3 separate regions of the Homo sapiens genome follow, and all the other regions are linked to region 2. Evidence: promoter capture Hi-C in human tissues and cell types (Jung and others, 2019). All regions are on one chromosome and are shown on one strand. Each heading gives the region's core, a stretch centred on a gene start or on the middle of the fragment in contact. The rest is flanking DNA. Distances are from core to core; before and after follow the strand shown.

The links. Contacts are between HindIII fragments. The study calls those that stand out against the background at their distance.
Region 1: a fragment that was not itself captured here is called in contact with the fragment with the promoter of ZNF236 in region 2 in 1 of the 25 tissues and cell types used here (dorsolateral prefrontal cortex).
Region 3: a fragment that was not itself captured here is called in contact with the fragment with the promoter of ZNF236 in region 2 in 1 of the 25 tissues and cell types used here (lymphoblastoid cells).

What each region holds. Positions count from the first base shown.
Region 1 is chr18:77,664,642-77,667,542 of GRCh38, forward strand. No RefSeq gene overlaps it. Among named protein-coding and RNA genes, the nearest start is that of LINC01029, 330 kb to the right of the region's middle. The HindIII fragment of the contact is 5,019 bases long and covers 1-2,901 here.
Region 2 is chr18:76,821,243-76,823,988 of GRCh38, forward strand. ZNF236 (zinc finger protein 236) reads left to right here and starts at 1,315. Exons shown (of 31, transcript NM_001306089.2): 1 at 1,315-1,420. The coding sequence starts at 1,366. It overlaps ZNF236-DT (ZNF236 divergent transcript), which reads right to left and starts at 1,053. Exons shown (of 3, transcript NR_040024.1): 1 at 774-1,053. RefSeq lists enhancers at 597-676, 717-826 and silencers at 897-1,086, 1,207-1,946. The HindIII fragment of the contact is 16,105 bases long and covers 1-2,746 here.
Region 3 is chr18:77,687,417-77,690,429 of GRCh38, forward strand. No RefSeq gene overlaps it. Among named protein-coding and RNA genes, the nearest start is that of LINC01029, 300 kb to the right of the region's middle. The HindIII fragment of the contact is 5,257 bases long and covers 1-3,013 here.

The DNA.
Region 1 (2,901 bases), core at 350-2,849, 840 kb after region 2:
GAGGGAAATGTGTATGATTTTATAGCATTTGATGAAGTGCTTGTAATGAGTGGAAGTTTTGAACAGCTAACAGGTGCTGCGATGTGATGGCAACTTCTCCTCTTCCAGCTGAGACCAGTCTCAGGAAGAGAGACACTGCAGGCCAGTTACACCTAACAGAGCAACTTAAAAAACACACGTAACCTCAGGCTGTCTACTTTCCAAAGGGGAACGGTCATAAATAGGAAATTTATCTCAACAAAGTGAAAGGAGGAATGAGCTGTAGGAGCCAACAGAACTGTCGTTCTTCTTAAGCACCAAACGCTTGGCGTCTGAGCGTTGGTTTTCATGGTGTTCAACACAGGGTTTGCTAGAGCATGCACCAGCTTTGTGAAGGGCAAGCTTGCTTGCTCCTGGGAAAGGGGCTGGAGGAAAAGTCTCCAACACATCCCACTGAGTAGAGAAAGGGACACATAAAGATACAAGGAGTACCAGAATTTTTGGAGACAGAACTATCAAAGCTGCTACTGAACCAATGACAAAATGGAGAAAACAGATGATACCAAAGAGCGTAGTTTGAATTTCAGAACCATAATATGTGGTCACAAAGTGGTAACCTTGTAGTCATGAGGGTATTATCTACTGTCATTTGCATGATAGAGAAAACGCCCATAGATGAGGAAAGAATAAAAACTCAAAAGCTTAACTTTCCTAAGCAAGAGAAGAAAACCAGTTAATATTAAACAGGAAGTAAGGTTAGCACTTGAAAAAAAACATTGCGAGCACAATGCTGCATTTCACACAAGAAAAAGATGGCTCAGTTACAAGATAAACTAAAGATGCGGCCTTTCTCTATGTCTGCAGAACACAGGTAGTAAAATGAACCTGCAGGTGCACCGTTATTCGCCGGGTGTTCTGCAATTGTCATGGAGGTGCCACGGAGGGGAAGTCAGGACAGTGGAAGGGGGTGTACTACGAGAGATCCAGCTTACGAGGGCAGAATTTCTGTAGGAAATATGCTATGCATTTGAATGGGGCTGAAGCCTCCTGTGGAAGTGCAACTAGCAACTAACAAGCATCTCAGAGCAAATGAAGTGGAGGGAAACTTAAATTGTGGCGTTGCTGAGTTTTGGCTGCGTAGATGAGACAGAAATTGCACCATCATTGTTGTTTCGTCTATCTTATTTTCTAGGCTTGGAGCTCCTTGGGGAAAGAAGTTGCTCTATTGGATTTGGTGTTTTCTCCATGTAACACAGCTCCAGGCAGACACCAGGTGCTTTAATGAATCTTTCGTGCTTTCTGGGCCATTTTTCAACTGTCTGAATGTTCCCAATTGCATCACTTTGAAGAGCTTGGTAATTTAGCTAAAATTGCAGCTCTGTCCTGAGAAAGCATCAGATAGCAAACATATCTCCATAGAGAAGGATTATAACCAGTCCCAAGGTATGTTAGTGAGGAAGCAATTAAGTGCGTGGACCAAAAAAAAAAAAAAAATTAGTGAAAGTATAATGTAAACATGAAGGGCAGTGCCAGCAGAGCAAGACTCCCAGGTCTGAAGTTTGCACCTCTGTGCTGTGAGCAGGACCCAGAACGGCTGCCGTCATGAGGAGATGGTTCAGAGGTCACCCTCCGAGCTGCTCATGTAAGGGTGGGTCCTCCAGGTAGCCTCATTTCCCTGCTATACCTGCTGTAGGAGCCATGGTATCAGAGGGGAGTTTATCAATGAAAAAGTCATACAAATAAATTTTAGAAACAACAACAATGAAGACCAAAGTTCTCCATCCATCATTTTCCGGTGTGATCCACGATTCCTGGTTTTTACAGAGTTCAGCAGAATCTCGCTATTAGCCCTGCAGCCTGGCTGTGAGGAAGCTGTTCCATGCCGTCACCAGCATCAGGTCCAATGCACATCTCTCTTTCTCGCTGGGTGCAGAGGATCCAGTGGAGAATGCTGGGGCTACCTCGTGCACGATGGAGTCACTGAGGAAAGGAGCCTGGGGCCCTGAATGACTGGGTGGAGTCCTCTTTTGCCCCTCGCCATCAGCTCTGTTGGACTGGATAAAAGTTAGAAATGGAAACTGTGTTGGATTTAGCCACTGAGATTTGGGAAATTATTTTTTATAGTAGAGTGCCTATGCTAATGAATATAGAAACAATTCTAACTACTCTCCAAATATTTTCATCATGATACATAGTCCTCCCAATAGGCCAAAATGATTGATTGCCTCCCACTGTTGCCATTGCTGTCCGTTAGTCATCTTTTTAAAAAGTTTGCCACCATTGTCAAACAATGAATCTCAATTATTTAATGTGGACCTAGTTAAGAATCATATTGTGCGCCATTTCATGTGTTTATCAGCTTTTCTTCTGTGAATTGTCCCCCTCCCCTCCCCTCCCCTCCCCTCTCCTCTTCTTCTCTTCTCCTTTTTTGTGAGACAGAGTCTCACTCTGCTGCCCAGGCTGGAGTGCAGTGGGGTGATCTCGGCTCACTGCAGCCTCTGCCTCCCGGGTGCAAGCAGTTCTCCTGCCTCAGCCTCCTGAGTAGCTAGGGACTATAGGTGTGTCCCAACACATCCAGCTATTTGTATGTGTATGTGTGTGTATGTGTGTGTTTGTGTGTGTGTGTATTTTTAGTAGAGAGGGGGTTTTGCCATGTTGACCAGGCTGGGCTTGAACTCCTAGCCTCAAGTGATCTACCTGCCTTGGCCTCCCAAAATGCTGGGATTACAAGCGTGAGCCACTGCGCCTGGCCCTGTGTGCATTTTCAAGGTGTAGGCTGCTTGGGACCTGCTGAGCTGGGAGGGAGCCACTGTTTGGGGTTTCCTGCACCCTGATTCTGATTTCTCTCTGTCAATAACTTGTTCTTGCAGATGCTGGGCTTGGATCAAGAACCAGGAAAACTGCTTTTTAAGCAGAAGTTAA
Region 2 (2,746 bases), core at 65-2,564:
TGAATTCCAACATAATTATGCTCAATGAACAGCCCCCACTTCCCTAAAGATTACGTGCGATACAATTCCATTTATATAAAACACCAAGAAAAACAGGTTGGGCACAGTGGCTCACATCTGCAATCCCAACACTTTGGGAGGCTGAGGCAGAGGGTCAATTGAAGCTAGGAGTTCCAGAGCAGGCTGGGCAACACAGAGAGACCCCATATGTTTAAAAAAAAACAAAAAGCTAGACATGGCGGTCCTCACCTGCAGTCTCAGCTACTCGGGAGGCTGAAGCAGTTGGATTGCTTAAGGGCAGGAGTTTGAGGCTACAGTGGGTCCCGATCGTGTCACTGCACTCCCGCCTGGGTGACAGAGCAAGCGAGACCCAGTCTGTATAAAAAGATATTTAAAAACTCCAGGAAATTCAAACTATAGTGACAAAAAGCAGATGGGTGGGAGGGGGAGGAGGGAAGGAGGGAGAGAGGAAAGGGTTACAGAGAGACGGGAGGAACATCTTCACTGTTGATTGTGATGATGGTTTCACAGTGTATACATGTGTCAAGATGTATCAAACTGCACACTTTAATTTGCGCCACTGCACTCCAGCCCAGGTGACAGAGTAAGGTCGCTTTCCCCGGGCTCGGCCGGCCTCTCCACCCGGCGCTCGGGTGCTGCGCTGCCTGTTCCTGTTGCCACTTCGTGTAAGTTAGCGCAGGCAACAACACACAAGACCAGCACACGTGAAATGGTCCATTTTAATGCACTGCCCCCAGGGAAAGGAACATTACCGGCTTCTGGCCATGTCGTCTTCCCAGTCCCAGATGGCGGTTCCGGGTTTGGGCTCCGAGGCCCTTCGCAGCACTAGGGCGGCGCGAGTAGGGCCGCCCTCCGAGCCATGCTGCGGTCCGAGGTGACGCGCGCACGCGAGTTCGCGGACACGCACGAGACGCCCGGGCCACGGAGGCGCGGGGCTGGCCCAGGGTCCCCGCCAGGCCGAGCTCTAGGGCTGCCGGCCCGGCCCGGTGACCCCCGCGCTCCCCTCCGTCCGCTAAGGCCCCGCGGCGCCGCGCATGCGCCCCGCCGCCGCCCCCGCCCCCACCGCGCCCGCGCCCGCGCCCAACGCCCCCACCGCGGCCCGCGGGCCATGGAACCTGCCAAGGCCGGCGCGGTTCGAGCGCTCCGGTGCGCGCGTTCAGGCGCCTTTCCCCCGTGAGCCCGGCGGCGCTCGGACCGGGCCGCCCGCCGCCGGGCAGCTCCGCCCGCCTCTAGCGCCGGCTGGGCGCGCCCCCGCCCCGGTGCCCGCGCGTGCGCGCCCCCGCCGCCGCGTGTGAGTGTGAGTGTGAGTGTGAGTGGGTGTGGGTGCGAGCCGGGCCGCCGACGATGCCGCGGGGCCGCCCCCCGAAGCCCAGGGAGAGCAAGGCGCGCGGCGACTCCGGTAAGGCCCGCGGCCGCGCCCTCGCGCCCCGCCGGCGGCCGGTGCGGGGCCCGCGCCCTGCCAGTCCCCGGATGCGGCGCGGGGGGCGCCGGGAGCGGCGGGGCGGGGGCGGGGGCCGCGCAGACCCGGGCCGCCGCCGCCGCCGACTGGCCGGGCGGGCCGCAGCGCGGGCGGAATGATACGGGCGAGTCGCCGCCCGGCCCCTCCGCGCGCTGGGCCTACTTTCCTGGGCCGGGCGGCGGCTGAGGCGGGAGGCGGGAGGCGGGTGAGGGAGCAGGCGGCCGCCTCCTGCGCGCGCCCTGCCCCCGCTGGCCCTGCCGCGGCCCGCGCTGAACTTGAGGGAAAGTGGCCGCCCCGTGTTCCGTCCCGGGGCCGGAGGGCCGCGGGGCGCGCTGGGGAGGCGGCCTGGCCAGAGCCCGGGCCTGCGGATACCGCGCCCCGGGCTCCTCCCGGACGGCGCCCCCGCCCGACCCTGCGCGGCGCCGGCTGCCCCGGGGACGTTGGGCTCGGCCCACAGGGAGGCCGTGGAGCGCGGGGTCGTGCACACAGTAGGCGCCAGCGTTGTCCGGGAAGCGCAGGGTCGTGCACACAGTGTGCTCCAGTGTTATCTGGGGCGCGCTGTGGGGCGTGCATACAGTAGGCGCCATTGTGATCCGGGAACTTGAACCCTGAGCCTCTGCAGACGCTGTGGGTAGTGCATACAGTAGGCGCCATTGTGATCCGGGGGGCTGGAACCCTGGGCATCTGGAGAGCGCTGTGGGTCGTGCAAACAGTAGGCACCATTGTGATCCGGGTAGCTTGAACCTGGAGCTTCTGGAGAGCGCTGTGGGTCGTGCATACAGTAGGCATCAGTGTTATGTGGGGAGCGCTAGATCGTGCACACAGTAGGCGTCAGGAAGTGTTTTCCCCAGTAATTTATTCTCCATGGTACTTTGCTAAAGTCATGAAATAACTCAGATTTTGTTTTCCAAGGAAGGAGAAAGGCCCAGAATTTAAGAGCAGGCAGACACACAACCGGGCACCCCCAGACCCTGGCCCTTCCAGCAGTCAGGAATTGACTTGCCTTCCAAAGCCCCAGCCCGGAGCTTGAGGAACGGACTTTCCTGCGCAGGGGGATCGGGGCGCACTCGCCGGTGCCGCGGTTCCCAGGTCGAGGGCAGTGGGGTAGGGGGCGCCGCGCTTTTTCTCGCGGGCGCCGTGGTTCCCGTGCGGCCTTGGACGCGAGTCTCCCCCTGCAGGCCTGGTCCCTGGTCCTGGTCACCCGTGCAACTGGAGCGGCGCTCCGCGTTTGGAAAGGGTTTTGAAGGGGGTTCTAAGGGGGAGTGG
Region 3 (3,013 bases), core at 428-2,927, 870 kb after region 2:
GTTCTATACAACCTCACAAAAACCCTCTGTCCTTTCAGGGTCAGAGCATATCAAGCCACTGTGGGCAAGATCACAGTCCTCCAAAAACAGCAAAAGCCTCCTAAGGAAACACGGCTCAATCATGAGCTACGTGTCCCCAGATCAACGCCTTCCCCATCCCACCACAAGGAGGATTGAGAGGTTGCCCAGGGATCCATGTCTGGGAAATCTGCTGCTTGCTCCCACTCCCGTTAAGTGCGTCCTGGCAATTGTTTGTTGAAGAAAACCCCTCCTCTAGCAGAGCACATTGACACTCTGATGTGGACAGGAGCACGTCTCCAGAGTGGACTTTGTGATTCAGGAAGCGTGCACCATCAGAGGTAGCCAGCCTAGCAATTCAGATTATGTCCTCAGCTCCCAATGACCTGGACTTTATCCCATCCTTACCATTAACCACCTGATGATTTTGGGCAAGTTACTTAAACTCTTTGTCCTTCAATCTCCTCAACTGTAAAATAAGGATAGAGGCGTACCTACTTGAGAGGATTTTTGTAAACGTTAAATGAAGGAATACAAATAAAGCCCTTAGACCTAAGACATAGTAAACACTTAATTCTAAATTATAATTATCGTCATTAACATCAGACCAAGAAAAACATATTCCCCAAATACTGGGTAGGAAAGACTCAGAATTCTGGCACTTGTAGGATTTAGAATCAAATCAGAACTTCCTGGCCAATCGTCCATGGTCTTGCATGTATGGTTAAATATGTTTTCAGCTCTTAGGGTAGCTGAGTGGTGCCTGTGTCTACCAGGAACCCTAGGCTGATCTCCCATCTTGAGCAATCTCGTCTAGTTTTCCCAGTGCCTTGTGAAAATATTGCCATTTTTTATGTGTGTCATAATATCAAATATGCAAATATCATCATTTTCTATGTGTACCAGGTCGATGGCACTGGGGAAGCAATGCACATTGAAATGGTTTGGCTTTGTGTCCTCACCCAAATCTCATGTTGAATTGTAATGACCAATGTTGGAGGTGGAGCCTGGCGGGAGGTGACTGGACCATGGGGATGATGTCTAATGGTTTAGCACTATCCCCCTAGTGCTGTCCCGTGATTGAGTTCTCATGAGATCTGGTTGTTTGAAAGTGTATAGCACCTGCCTTTTGCTCTCTCTCTCCTGCTCTGCCATGGTAAGATGTGCCTGCTTCCTCTTCACCTTCTGCCATGATTGTATGTTTCCTGAGGCCTCCCAGCCATGCTTTCTGTACAGCCAGTGGAACTGGGAGTCAATTAAATCTCTTTTCTTCATAAATTACCCAGTCTCAGGTAGGTTCTTATAGCAGTGTGAGAATAGACTAATACACGCATCATCTACGGATGTGCTGAGAGAAGACTGAAGCCTCAAAGTCACCCAAAACTCTGTTGAGTCTTTTGTCAACTCTACTCTATTAACCAATGCCACATCTTGACTATTTGGAGAGATCTAGGCTCAATCTTCCCTTTTTTTCTATATTTTATTATTTTAACCTGGGTAAAGATTACAGATCAATCATCAGACACATGAACTGCAAGCCTCACAGCCTCTGTGAATAAATGAATAAATAAAATTTTAAAAAAGTAGAGAGTAAAGTATAGAGCATAAATAAATCAAATAACTAACAATCAAGATAAGAGAAATTATATACTAATCTAAAATCTGGATTATACAAAAGCTTAACGACACCTAATGATAACAATCATTGACGAAATTATGGATCAATAAGTGTGCTTATACACTGACAGAGAGGATAGAAATGATTAAAAACAACTTTGCAAAAAATAGGTGAAATTGCAGATACACACACTTGAAGTCTCAGATTTTACTAATATAGTAAAATCTCTCACTCTAGAGAACTCATACACACAGAGAAACACATGCCATGTGGTGCCACCATTGGGAACCAACAGCAAGCGTGTCACCAGCTTGGACACTTGGCCCTGGTAGAGTAGATAAATGTCTGCCCTGTCTTTCTGTCTTGTGTATCTCATTTTCCTCAGGATTTCTATTTTTTTTTTTTTTAACCAGGGAGGAAGGGAATCATGGAGGAAGACAGAACTTTTGACTTTTCTTCAATGCAACTGCTTTGTTCCATTTATGGGGGCATTGCCTCTCTCAGCCCAGGTTGCACCTCATCCTGGTGGCCTTGGCTTTGTGTTGCAGACTCCCTGTCCAGTGGCTGAGATGGCCAGCCTTGTACTCCTGGGTTGGGTAGTGTAATCATTGCTGCTTTTCTCATTCCTTGCTGTTAGACATATTTTAATGGGAAACGTGCTGGTCTCTGTTTCCACACTTTCCCCTAGGCACTGCAGTCTCACGTCCTGCACCTGCCTTTTCTATGGTGGATGCTATTTTTTTGTAGAAGACAGATGATATCTTTTTTAACTCGAATATTTAAAGCTCTTAGACAAGTTTTAGGCATTGCATGAATTCTGAGTACGAACCACTTAACAGAAGATGGGGGTTGTATCAGCAGCAGAGCTGGACTGGTCAGTGTTCAGATTTCAAAGTAAATCTCTGCTCCTCTGGTTCTGAGTTTTGTTCTCATCTGCTGCAGCATATTTTGAGCAGAGTTGTGACTCCATCTACATCTGCAAATTTTCCCTGCTGCTGATAGGTTCACATAGCTCTCAAAATACTCTTTGGAAAACTCCTTTTCCTTCAGCAGTAGCTATAGAAGGAGTTTGATTTAAAAAAAAAAATGTCTCTTACTGTTGTTACAGAGAATCTGCCTTTTGGGGGCCCATTGGGGATTCCGTTCTCCTTATTCAGACACCATTTATCGATTGCTTTCTTTTTCTTGGTCAACTTGATTCTGGCCAAGGCAGAGGTCTTGTTGGGGCTTAGGGGCCCTCCATCCCCTATCTGTCCGATTGTGGGCGGCCTGCCGGTGCTCTAAAGGCTCAGTCTGTCTGTCTGATTCTGGGCGGCCTGCCGGCGCTCTAAAGGCTCTGTCTCTCTGTCTGTCTGACTGTGGGCGGCCTGCCGGCGC